Regions from separate parts of the Homo sapiens genome. Here regions 1, 2 and 4 are each linked to region 3. Evidence: promoter capture Hi-C in 16 types of primary human blood cells and fetal thymus (Javierre and others, 2016). All regions are on one chromosome and are shown on one strand. Each heading gives the region's core, a stretch centred on a gene start or on the middle of the fragment in contact. The rest is flanking DNA. Distances are from core to core; before and after follow the strand shown.

Region 1 (3,159 bases), core at 227-2,726, 1.1 Mb before region 3:
CTGCGGCCACCGCCACCCCCACCCAGGACTGGGCGCTAGGTGCCCTCTCGGAAGCTGTGGATCTGCGTGGAGTACCTCTGCAGGTGGCCCTGGGGCTGGGCCTCCGTGGCCCCCAACGCACCCCCAGCCACCTGCTGCTGCTGCTGGTAGTGCTGGTAGAGCTTGGGGCCCGGCCCCTCCAGGCCTGGGAGGCGGCTGCTGGACATGGTCAGGATGGTGGCCGTCAGCGATTTGATGTAGTTCTTGGCCAGCGTGAGCGTCTCGATCTTGGAGAGCTTCTTGTCCGCGCGCACGTGGGGGATGACTTCACGCAGGGCCTGGAAGGCGTTATTTAGCTTGTGCATCCGCTGCCGCTCCCTCTCGTTGCTCTCCAGCCGCCGCTGGATGCTGCTGTCACGACGGCCACCGGGCCCGGAGGGTCCTGGCCGCCTGCGCCTGCCCTCGCCCGGAGCCCTTGCTGCGGCCCGGGCCGGCCGGCTCCGCAGACCCTTGGCCGGCTCTGGCCCCGGGTTCGGCAGGGACCCGTCGGGCGTCCCCTCCCCGGGGGTGGCCTCTGTGTCCTGCACCGGGGCCCGGCGCCGTGGGGGCCGGTTCTTGGTCTTCATGGCCCTGGACTGGCTGTCCTAGGAGGTGGCGGCAGGAAGGTGAGGCCCTTGGAGCTGAAATCCAGAACACAGGACACTCTGTGGTCACCCCACATGGGCAGGGGACCCGCTGGGGTGCCGTCCCTGGCAGCCTCCTCCTTGCTGACAGCAATGGTACCAGGGGCAGGGGTTGGCGCTCTGCGACTGGAGGTCCTTCTGTTCACACGCTTAGCCCTGGGCTGACCCCACACACACCCACGCCCTTGCTTTACCTCAAACAGACCTCTGGAATCTGTCCCTGTCCCTGCGTCCCCCTTCCCCCAGGATGACTCATCCTGACCCCTAGATCTTCCTCTGGCTCATGCCCCTCACTGCCCCCAGAGTGCCTCCTGAGCTCGGTGACCTTTGACACTTTGCCTAGAATGCGTCCCCCACCCTAGCTTAGGGGGCGCCTCTGCCGGAGGCGGCACTGACTTCATCCCGTGGGCGGGCAGTGACTCCAGCCACCAGGCTCTCACTGTCCTGCCCCGCTGGACGTGACACGTGCAGGGACAGCACTGGGGCCAGAACCGCTGCGGACATGGGACAGCACTGGGGCCAGAACCGCTGCGGACATGGGGCAGCCGTGGAGGTCAGAGGTCGGCAATGGCCAGGGCCTGGCGGCAGCCCCCAATCCCACCACGTGGATGGGCCCCGTGGAGCCTCCAGACAGACCAGAAGTCCCCCACCCGGGTTTCCCCACAGCCCCCACAACCCCCACAACCCCACCGCCAGGTCCTGCCCCTGGGTCCCCTCCCCGCGGCCCCACCCGAGTTCCCAGCTCCCGGGTTACCTGGGGATCCGCGGCCACACGCGCCGAGGCTGCCCACGGGGGACAAGGACACGTCGCTTTAGCCGCCCCGGGAGGGGCCGCGGACGCATGCAAATGAGCCCTCGGGGCGGGGCCGGGGCGGGGCCGGGGTCCGGGTGTCCCGGCGGGCGCTGGGCAGCAGTGGCGGCACCTGCGGGCGGGCGGGCGGGAGGCCGGCGCCTGGGGCTCCCGGACCAGGTGGCCGCGCAGCCCCGCCCCCAGCTTCCGCCCCGCCCCCAAGATAGAAAACCTCCCCCGCCCGCCTCTCCCCATCCTCCCCCTACTGCCCCCCACCCTCGTCCCCCAAGACAGCCACCCCCGCCCGCCTCTCCCCACCATCCCCCGACAGCCCCCGACCCTCGTTCCCCCAGACAGCCTCCCCCACACGCTTCTCCCCATCCTCCCCCGACAGCCCCCCAACCGCCCCGAGATAGCTTCCCCCCATTCGTCTCTCCCCATTCTCCCGCTACAGCCCCCCCAAGACAGCCTGCGTCCCCACCTCCCCTACTCCCGTCCCCCGACAGCCTCCCCACAACCTGCTTTTCCCCATCCTCCCCCTCAATTTCCACTCGCGCCTTTCCCACCCGCCTACCCCATATCCGTGCCCGAGACAGCCTCCCCCCGCCCGCTTTCCCCGACCCTCCCCCTGACACAGCACCCCCGCATCCATGCCTCCCGCGATCCTCCTTGCCCGGCCTCTCCACTCGTGGCGGGGCCCGGGCCCATTCCGCCAATGGGAAACAGGTCTCTGGGAGCCGCCGGAAGGAGGGGCAGCCCCGATTCAGGCTCAGCACACAGATCCCAAGTCCCAGGAGCACTCCGGGACGAGCCGCTCCGCGAAAACGCGGGCATCTCCCAGGGGATCCCCCGCCCCGCCGCCCGGGATGTTTAGGGGAACCTGGGGCTCCTACGGGCTGGGGGCGGAGCCCGAGTTGGGGTGGGGGTGGGGGGCTCCTTGGGCAGGTGTGCAGTCCTTGGGAACGCCTGTTTTGTTTGTTTGTTTGTTTTTGAGACGGAGTTTCGCTCTTGCTGCCCAGGCTGGCGTGCAATGGAGCGAGATGATCTCGGCTCACCGCAACCTCCGCCTCCCGGGTTCAAGCGATTCTCCTGCCTCAGCCTCCCGAGTAGCTGGGATTACAGGCATGCACCACCACGCCCAGCTAATTTTTGTATTTTTAGTAGAGACGGGGTTTCTCCACGTTGGCCAGGCTGGTCTTCAACTCCTGACCTCAAGTGATCCACCCGCCTCGGCATCCCAAAGTGCTGGGATTACATGCGTGAGCCACCACGCCCAGCCAAAGCAGCATCTTGCTCAGGGACTATTCGGGGCTGCTAGGGGTGCGGTGACTGCACGCTGCTGGGGGTGCGGTGAGTGTCACGCTGGCTGGCAGGCCTGGGCTCCACACTCATGGGTCTCGCCGCTCTGTCTCAGTACCTCTGGGTGGGAACTCAGAGGGGCCATAGTGGGGCGGGGGGCGGGCACAGAAAGGCTAGCTTGGAGCCAAGGTTAGTTAGTTCTTCTCTTGGCCTAAAGCTCATTTGAGGCTGGGCCAAATGAGGTCCTTGGAAATGAAAATGCTTCCGAAATTCATGAGTGCAAAGGCATGGTTTATAGACATGCTTCAAGGTGGCAGGAACACTAAACAGGTTTGGTTTTCCAGTGGTTATACAAAGCTTTATGTCCTCAGGAGTGCGGGGAGTTTAGGTCTGTCACACAAGCTCCAG
Region 2 (3,193 bases), core at 458-2,957, 1.1 Mb before region 3:
TCCTGCCTCAGCCTCCCGAGTAGCTGGGACTACAGGCGCCCGCCACCACGCCCGGCTAATTTTTTGTGTTTTTAGTAGAGACGGTGTTTCACCATGTTAGCCAGGATGGTCTCATCTCCTGACCTCATGATCCACCCGCCTCGGCCTCCCAAAGGGCTGGGATTACAGGCGTGAACCACTGCGCCCGGCCCACTCATCGTCCTTCTGCTAATAGCACCCTGATCTTCCTCTGAGGAGCCACCCCCTGTGCCTGGCTGAGCCCTTATGCTTGAGGGGGGCTCTGCCCACATCTCCAGACCAAGTCCACAAATGCCAGTCCCTCAGGCCCAAGCTAAAGTCAGGGTCAGACACAGGACTCCACAGAGCCATCCGGGGTGAACAAGAGGCTTCTGGGGGCGTTTTCTTCCACTGGAGCTGGCCTGTGTGGGGCTTCCCCAAACATGAAGGCCCAGGAAAAGCCTGTGTGCAACCCCAGAAATGAGACAGAACTAGAGGGGGAGCAGGAATAGGTCCCTAGGTCCAACCAGGTGACATTGGTTTAGCTCAATGTCGGGTAGTATCTAGCCTTCCATCAGATGCCCTTTTTTTTCTTTTTTGAGAAGGAGTTTTGCTCTTGTCGCCCAGGCTGTAGTGCGGTGGCACAGTGGCACGATCTCAGCTCACTGCAACCTCCACCTCCCCAGTTCAAGCGATTTTCCTGCCTCAGTCTCCCGAGTAGCTGAGATTACAGGCATGCGCCACCACCCCTGGCTAATTTTGCATTTTTACTAGAGACGGGGTTTCACCATCTTGGCCAGGCTGGTCTCAAACCCCTGACCTCAAGTGATCCGCCCGCCTTGGCCTCCCAAAGTGCTGGGATTACAGGTATGAACCGCCGCACCTGGCCGACATCTTTCTTTTTTCTCCTTTCTCCATCCTAACCTTGCCAGTTTTCTGCCAGGCGGGATACAGTGTTTTCAAATCCCAGTTCCATCGCTTACAACGTGAGTCGCTCCATCTCTGAGCCCGTGTTCGCATTTGTAAAATGGGAATGACGCCGCCAGCTCTTTGGGTTGCTGGGAGGATGAAATGAGAAGACCCAAGTAAAGCACTTACGTCAGTGCCCGCCACCCCGGGAGGACTCGCATATTACTATTAATATATTAGGCCAGCTTACACTGGGTTTTGTCACTGACAATAGAGTTTGAGCAATCCAGGGCCTGTTACTGACACCACACCATGCTATAGTCACAAAATCACATATGCTTCCAGGACTCCTCCTCGAAAGAGTAAAGCTTTAAGTGTAGTGTGTGCTCAAGGGCTACGTTTCAGTTCGATGGATACCAGGAAGACACCTGTTCCCTGCGTCCTCTCCACGCCCCAGGCCGGGCGCCCACACCCTGCTCCTCCTGACGCCGCACAGCCACGCACCCAGGTACCCTCTCCGCCACCCCTTCTCCTCGCCTGCAGGCGGTGTCCACACCGCCCTCTCCGCTCCTGCAGACCGGGTCCTGGAGGGCGGCCGGGCGGTCCACGGGCCGGTGTCGCGCCGCCAGAGAGAACGCGGCAACTCGCTTCAGCCGACTCTGGACTCCTGACCTGGCGCGACCCCGGAAGTGGGCGGGCGCGCGACCTCGAAGCCAGCACCGACGCGGCGCACCGCAGCCAATCGCACGTCCCAGGTCGCAGCGTCCTGGCGAGGCTGGCCAATGGGCACGGGGCCTGATGCCGCTTCCGGCCCACCCTCTTGCCCGGTCCCCGGGAGGGCCGGTCCGCTCCTCCCGGACGCCGAGGACCTACCACCGCGACTTCGCCCCGCCCGGCGCGGGCCCAGGTGAGTGCAGAGTGGCGCCCCAGCTGCAGCGGCGGCCAGGGCCGTGGGAAAGAATGGGGCGATGAAGGGCTGGGCACGCCGCCTTCCCCACCACCCCCAGGCTGTTTGCTCGCGGGGAGGGAGGAAGGAGGGACCGCACTTGTCATCTCGCCTGCACACCTGGAAGGTGCCGCCCCCGTCCCCTGCCCTGGAACGCCCACAGGCTAGCGAAGTTGCCTGGTGCAGGTGACGCCCCCATTCCAGCCTTTGGACTGGAGCCATAGGAGAAGCGGATCGCGGGATCCTGGTTGTTTTCGAGAATCACGCAGCAAGGGGCCTGCCTATCCCTCTCCCTGGGTATTGATGGGAGCAAATCTGCTTGTCGTAAGATTAGCTTTGGCAGATGGTCAGGGCCCAGAGCTCCGACATATGCTACTGGTGGCAGTGCAGGGGCCCCACCTGTCACCCAAGTGCACAGCACTGGGCTGAACGCCAGGCTGACTCAGGACACCTCCTGCCCGGTGGGGCTGGGCGGACCCTATTCTTCAGGAAAGAATCAACTACCATGCAAGTTCTGCTGCTTTTTCCCACCTTTTAGGACCCTGATGTCGCTTTTGAACAGCCCCTGCACCTGGCAGCCAGCGAGCTACTGTAGTAGGCATTGCCGACTGTTTGCATACCGGATGGGAGTGACAGTGTAATAGAAAAACAAGCAAGAAACCTTTTAGGTAGGACTCCTAAGGCTCAGAGGAAGTAAGTGCTTGCGGAGCGTTCTTTGTACTGTGTCTTTTCCTCTACCACATCTCTGTCCCCGCCTCTCTTGGGTGCTTTTTTTGGTCTCTGAAAGGATCTGTGAATAAACTGAGACAGAAAGGCAGATGGCTTTGAGGGTGGCGAGCAGACCTTCTTCGTGGAAAGACTGAAGGTTCAACTCAAATTCATCTTGTAGAAATTCTTGGTGAATTCGAGGCTGCTGATTTGGAAGATTTTCCTCCATCCCTCTAACCCTACAAAACAAACAAGTCCCAGGATCCCTGAATCATGGGGCTTCATGTTCCAACCCCCCTTTCAAGAGTCCTCTGACCCAGTGACCCTGTGTAAGTTGCCTGATCAGCTCACAGCCAGAAAGTGGCCCATGAGGAGCTAGGGGGAGCCTCTTGGCAGAGGCAGAAAGAAAGTGTGGCTGACCAAGGATGGTTACCGGATGTCAACTGTAGCTAGGAAGTGACGACAGGTGCCTGGGTCTCTACTCTGAAGGGAGTTTGTAAATACAGCAACCCCCCACCCCTCCCTTTCACTGTAGCAGAGTCTTCTCCCATTAACTGCCCAGAAGATTCAATGATGTCTATGAGGAAATTAGTGCTTAGTCATTTATTTGAAGGAAAGTCAAAATCTCCTTTC
Region 3 (2,915 bases), core at 351-2,850:
AACTAAATGCATTGTAGAATCCCCATTGGATCCTGGAACAGAATAAGGACATTAGTGAAAGGGCTGGCAAATTGTAAATAAAGTCTGTAGTTAACAGCATTGTAGCAATGTTAATTTCTTGTTTTTGATCACTGTACCCTGATTATGTAAGATGCTAACACAGGGGGAAACAGGATGTAGGGAACTCTCTACTGTCTTTCTAACTCTTCTGTATGTCTAAAATTATTCCAAGTTTTAAAAAGCTCAATCCCAGTTACCAAGCCTACTAGGTCAACTAACACATTTTTTATTTATGCAGTTCTTTTTTATACCCTCTCTCTCTCCTACAACCTATTATCAATTTTTTCTGAGTTGCTACTCTTTCCTACTTTTTCCCAAAGAGGCTTCCATGTGCTTACATTTTAAGACTTCTTAAAATAACCTTATTTCCTCCCAACAGAGAGCTACTCTCCTTCCTGTACGGCCACAAAATGACCTACCATAAAAGATGTAAAATACTTTAATACAGTATCTTATAGCTTCATAACAATTAGCAATACACAAGTGCTTGTAAATACATTTACATACGTAAATTTTGAGATGCATAAACACTTATTATTTTATAGATGAGAAAATAAGACTAGAAAAATTATGTGATCTGACACTTAAAATGTCAGAGACTGAATCTGAATCCAGTTCTTCAGGCTCCAAAACCAAATTACCTTATTAAAATAAAGTGCTCTGTGTCTGAAAAGCTTCAACTTCCCTGCTTCAGGCAAGCGAATTACATCAAATACACCATGATTTTCAAGAAAGTTCTAAATTTCCCGATTGTTCTAAATGTCGCTCTTAAAAGCTTCAATAATTATACAAAAAAGAATTCTGGAAGTCAGTGCAAAGTTTGTGTTCACCCTAACCATTCTTTTGATTTTTTTTTACAAAGCCGACTTCAGTCATCTCCCCTTCAACTATTTAGGCCGAAGAACCGCTTACCTCTATTTTCATATCAGCTCCAACTCATGCTTTCAAATATCTGAGCTGTCATTCCAATCTCTAATTCCATTCATTTATTTATATTTGCAAATGAAAACTAGGGGCAATCCTGCAGGGCCCCGAGCCCCACGAAATACTCTGAATATCTTTTTTCCTTTACTCAAAAAAAAAAAAAAAAAGTCAAACGACTTATTGCTAATGCATGTGTCTGTTTAATATTTAGCGCAATGGTGCAGGGCGAAGTAACAATGACTTGAGACCGGAGGAAACAACTTTCGCCTGACTTAACTGCCACCAGCATTTTTCTCCTTCACAGTTTGTAATCTCCAACCTTTTGTAATCTTTTTCATGTTACCTGATTTCTGTATCAGCCAAGTGAGAAAATTATTTAAACCCAACCAAAAGCGCTGAGATTAAATAATAAATTACGGAAATAAGCCTTTAAATTTGAAAACTAATAAGAGAACCATTAATTTATTAATGGGCGCTTACTAGGTGCAAAGGCACTTAAAAGGACAAAAAGCTCCTGAGGTTTTTGAGCACTTAACGACGACTTGCTCATTTTTGTGACCTCCTACCCTCACCCTTTGAGCACCTGGCATCTGCAGGAGCTCAAAAGTTGAACTGAATTGGGGACGCTGAAGTAACAGGATCTGCTCTAGTGAGAAACCCGTGGGAGAAACTTTGGAAAGTGTTACCTGAACAGCATTACGCTATTTCAAACAGAACAGGTTGCTGCTCTGTTTAACCCCGCATGGGGGACTGGAACTAGAAACCTGGACACCGAGGAACCCCAAAGGTCTTGGGCAAAGAGAAGGGAGCGTCACTTGCCTCCCATTCTTGCAAGAAACGCTGTGCCTCGTCAGAACCAACGGTCTTATGTCTCCTAAATTCGTCTTTCACGTACTGGTCGCCCAGGGATTTGAGGTCCGGGGGCAGAACACGGTGCAGCTGCAAGACGCGCTTGTACAATGCCCGGACTCGAGAAACGTGCCGCCCCGGCATAGCGCCCCACGCCGACCGCCGACTGCGCCTGCGCAGAGGGACGGCGCGTTCCCGCACTTCTGCGAACTTGCGTATTAGTGAACCGGAAGGCAGACGAAAGAGGGCGCGCGACCTCTATCCGGTTTGGTCCCTTGCACAATCAGGTCCTCCCGGAAACCCAAGCTCCGCTGCGGGCGGAAAACGGGTCGGTCCTTCTCTAGGAGGGGCGTGGCCCTCGTGGAGTCGCGCCTGCGCCTCGTCGTGGCTTCTTCTGGCCTGCGTCCTGACGACACAGGCCTTGAAAGAGAGAGGTCTGTGGTGGGCCGTTGTCATTTCTCAGTCCCACTCCACTGTCTTTTTCATTCAACTTCGTTTCTGTCCTCCTACCAAAGGCCTGAGAAAAGCTTCGTTAAGATCGGGCTCCTCCGGGATTCCTTCCATGGTTCCCAACCCATTTGAGGCATTTAGAGTATTACTGCACCCTGCTTTAGGGATCAGAGTGAGATTAATCTCGCCATCCACTAGCTCACCAACCCACGCTCTTTGCACAGCGCTGTTCTCCCAATTTATACTCTGGGCATGGGCTCTTCCTTGCAAACAACCCAAGTGAGCCCAGAGCTGGCGGACTCCTTAGCCAAAGTCAAGTTGGCTGCTGAAGGATCCTTGGGAAGAGTTTTAAACGTATTGTTTCCAGGACCACGACCCTGGAGATTCTGGTTAAATAGTCTAGGATAATAAGAACGAGGAATCTAGAAATTTACAAAGCTCTATCTTTTGCGAAGGTAATACTGAGAGTAGAACTGGTTTCCAAAGCTGGCAGCTCCTTGTGTTGTCCTTTCCTGTCACACGTTTGGTTCTTCAGCAAATCCTGATGGCGTCACCAACAAAAATGCAGAAATCAACCATTTCGCCCCATGTACTCTACCACAATCTCTCTCCACTGGATATTGTGTTAGCTT
Region 4 (2,953 bases), core at 305-2,804, 1.8 Mb before region 3:
ATGGGAAACAGTGACAGAACATCAGGCATTAGATTCTCATAAGGAGCACGCAACCTTGATCCCTCACGTGAGCAGTTCACAGTAGGGTTTGCGCTCCTATGAGAATCTAATGCCCTGCTGATCTGCCAGGAGGTGGAGCTCAGCGTGGCTCACAGGCCCTGCTCACCTCCTGCTGTGCAGCCAGTTCCTAACAGGCTATGGACTGGTACTGGCGGCCAGGGGCTTGGAGACCCCTGCTTTAGACGCCTTGATGTCAATGCACTGGGTGGTGCAGTGATGGTCCATCCGTGCTCCACGGGCCAGAGAGGAGGTCAAAGGCCCTCACTGTGTGGGAGGATCCCTCGCCCAGGTAGCCGTAGCAAAGCGGAAGCATAGCTGGGACCAGAACCCACCGGGCTTCCAGCGTTTAAGGCCAGCCAGGCCCCTCCAGCTTCTAGGAGAGCCCAGCCCTGCTCCTCTAAGGCAAATGGCAGTAACTGTGTAGGCTGGTCACCCCTCACCGCAGTAGCCTGACTCCCACAAGGCCCTCAGTGACAAAGAAGTTGCCCTGGGCCCAGATACGAGCAGGAGCCCCATCTTAACAGCAGCTGTGAGAGGGTAAACCGGGGGATGACATCAAGCCCACGGCAGGGGCCGGGTGCTCAGGCCCCTCTATCAAGAAGGGGCAAGAGGCTGGGCACAGTGGCTTACACCTGTAATCCCAACATTTTGGGAGGCTGAGGCGAGAGGATCACTTGAGGCCAGGAGTTTGAGACCAACCTGGCCAACATGGTGAAACCCCGTCTCTACTAAAAATACAAAAATTAGCCAGGCCTGGTGGCGGGCACCTGTAATCCCATCTTACTAGGGAGGCTGAGGCAGGAGAATCGCTTGAACCCGGGAGGCGGAGGTTGCAGTGAGCCGAGATCGCGCCATTCTGGGACAGAGCGAGACTCTGTCTCAAGATTAAAAAAAAAAAAAAAAGAAAAGAGGAAGCAGCAGCAGCAGCAGCAGCAAGAGGAATTTCGAGGCCTTTCGCCCAACGCCTGGCGCACCTTAAGCTCTCAACAGTTCTTGAATGAGGAGTAGCATCTCGGAGCCACGAGCGTGCAGAGAGAAGGCACCTGGAGGAGAGCCCCAAGGGACCTGCAGGCGGCTTGCAGCGCAGCGCACGCCCCTGGGGACGCTGAGTCAGAGCCGGCGGCATCGGATCCAGGGCGGGGAGGGGCTCGGGGGAAGGGAAAAATGCGGGTGCGGGGGGCGTGGTTTCGGGTAGTGGAGGGGAAGGATGCGGCCGGGGGTGGATTTGGGGTGGGGAGGGATGCGGGGAGGAGCCAGGGCGCAGGAAGGGAGCTCTGGAACCCCTAGAGGGGAAGCAAGCTGGGAGGGGCGATCGTGGACTCCAGGAGGGCAGGGGGCGCGGCCGTGGGAAGAGACCCGGAGAGGGAGGACGCGGCCGTGGAGAGGGACGCGGGAGCAAGGGGCGGCGGGAGGAGGAGGAGGGCGCGCGGCGCGGCTGACGTGGGCCGGGGTCGCGCAGCGGGCTGTGGGCGGCGGCGGCGGCGCGCAGCGACAGAGCGTCCCCCGGCGAGGACGAGCGAGCACGGCGCCCGCACCTCCCCGCACCGCCCGCGCTGCGCGCCCGGAGGAGCGACCGCCGCAGTTCTCGAGCTCCAGCTGCATTCCCTCCGCGTCCGCCCCACGCTTCTCCCGCTCCGGGCCCCGCAATGGCCCAGGCAGTGTGGTCGCGCCTCGGCCGCATCCTCTGGCTTGCCTGCCTCCTGCCCTGGGCCCCGGCAGGGGTGGCCGCAGGTAAGGCGCTGGGCAATCCGGCCTCCCTGCAGCCGCAGCCCGCCCGGGGCCTGGAACCGTCTCAGCGGGCGAGTGGGCCCGGGAGCAGGGATTGCGGAGGTGGCACCGTGCGCCCTGCGCGCATCTCCCTCCTCGGCTGAGGCCACTGCAGCGCCCTTTCCCCTCTCCTTTCATCCTTGTTCCCCAAAGTCGCCTGGGCACTGGAGGGGGCTCCCCGCACCCCCTGGATTCCTGCTTCCACCCCCCCAGGCTGGCCCTGCCCTGGAAACCGCGCGGGGGTGGCCGGCGCATCCGTCGATGCCTGGGGACCATGCACCCGCTAAGGGAGGGGAGGACGAGGCAGGGAGGCGGGGATGCGCCAGGGTCCGTCATCGCGCCACAATTCCCCAGTCCCCCAGGGAGCACGGGATGGGCAACGTTTTTGCCTTAAAATGTCGCCTCATCTAGAGGGGTTTCCCACCGTGTTGGTGCTGGCTTTGGGGAGATGCGAATTTAGAGCCCAGGAGGCCAGGCTGCCATTTCCTCTCTGGTGGTGATTTCCAAAATGGACCCGGAGCTGACAGGTTCCTGGGGTGTGTGTGTGGGTGGGGGAGTGGGGGAAGCAGGGTTGTGTGTCTACTGCCCCCACTTCCCCACCGCCAGAAAGCCAGCACCCACCTCTCTGCCACATTTTGGGAACCATAAAAGGACCCAGATTTAAGACTATTCGAGGGACAGATGGGACGTGGGCAGCTAAGAAGGTTGAATACTATCCACCACTTTTCACCCCCTCCCCCCTCATAAAAGAGCGGTGGAGAGAGAGAGCAAGGGATCTAATGAAAATTTGTGAAAGAAAAACCATGAGGTCAAAGAAAACCTGCAACTCAGGGATGAATTAGACGAATTTTATGGGAATTGCACTTGGACAAGATTACCTATTTCCTCCTGGAAATACAGGAAAGGGGTCTCTTGTCCATCAGGTTGATTTGTGTCAGAGATTTTCAATGTGTCCTAAATTGCAAAAGAAAAAGAAAATAATAACAAAAGTGAATTAATTATTTGGAAATCATGTGTGGTTCCCATTCTAGCCAATTGCACCCTTGATGTGGTCAAAATCACAGTGGCTAAGAGTGGAGTTGGGAAACATCTTCTCCCTCACCCGTCGGGGAGACTTTTCTACCCT

What was found. Contacts are between HindIII fragments. The CHiCAGO score rates a contact against its expected background, and 5 or more counts as called.
Region 1: the fragment with the promoter of BHLHA15 here is called in contact with a fragment that was not itself captured in region 3 in 3 of 17 cell types (total B cells, naive B cells and fetal thymus); the score reaches 9.4 in total B cells.
Region 2: the fragment with the promoter of TECPR1 here is called in contact with a fragment that was not itself captured in region 3 in 9 of 17 cell types (fetal thymus, naive CD4 T cells, monocytes and 6 more); the score reaches 14.0 in fetal thymus.
Region 4: the fragment with the promoter of TMEM130 here is called in contact with a fragment that was not itself captured in region 3 in 7 of 17 cell types (activated CD4 T cells, naive B cells, naive CD8 T cells and 4 more); the score reaches 7.9 in activated CD4 T cells.

Annotation. Positions count from the first base shown.
Region 1 is chr7:98,209,756-98,212,914 of GRCh38, reverse strand. It overlaps BHLHA15 (basic helix-loop-helix family member a15), which reads right to left and starts at 1,476. Exons shown (of 2, transcript NM_177455.4): 1 at 1,417-1,476; 2 at 1-659. The coding sequence starts at 605. The coding sequence ends at 36. RefSeq lists a silencer at 1,415-1,604. The HindIII fragment of the contact is 21,052 bases long and covers 1-3,110 here.
Region 2 is chr7:98,250,746-98,253,938 of GRCh38, reverse strand. It overlaps TECPR1 (tectonin beta-propeller repeat containing 1), which reads left to right and starts at 1,707. Exons shown (of 26, transcript NM_015395.3): 1 at 1,707-1,813; 2 at 2,391-2,545. It overlaps LOC124901706 (a long non-coding RNA gene), which reads right to left and starts at 1,580. Exons shown (of 2, transcript XR_007060448.1): 1 at 1,411-1,580; 2 at 1-1,055. RefSeq lists silencers at 1,421-1,520, 1,611-2,000 and an enhancer at 1,317-2,060. The HindIII fragment of the contact is 5,193 bases long and covers 1,277-3,193 here.
Region 3 is chr7:97,116,786-97,119,700 of GRCh38, reverse strand. It overlaps SDHAF3 (succinate dehydrogenase complex assembly factor 3), which reads right to left and starts at 2,003. Exons shown (of 2, transcript NM_020186.3): 1 at 1,804-2,003. The coding sequence starts at 1,977. RefSeq lists enhancers at 1,826-1,915, 2,266-2,345. The HindIII fragment of the contact is 1,525 bases long and covers 838-2,362 here.
Region 4 is chr7:98,868,615-98,871,567 of GRCh38, reverse strand. It overlaps TMEM130 (transmembrane protein 130), which reads left to right and starts at 1,554. Exons shown (of 8, transcript NM_152913.3): 1 at 1,554-1,791. The coding sequence starts at 1,707. RefSeq lists enhancers at 1,484-2,069, 2,070-2,656. The HindIII fragment of the contact is 4,583 bases long and covers 1-2,953 here.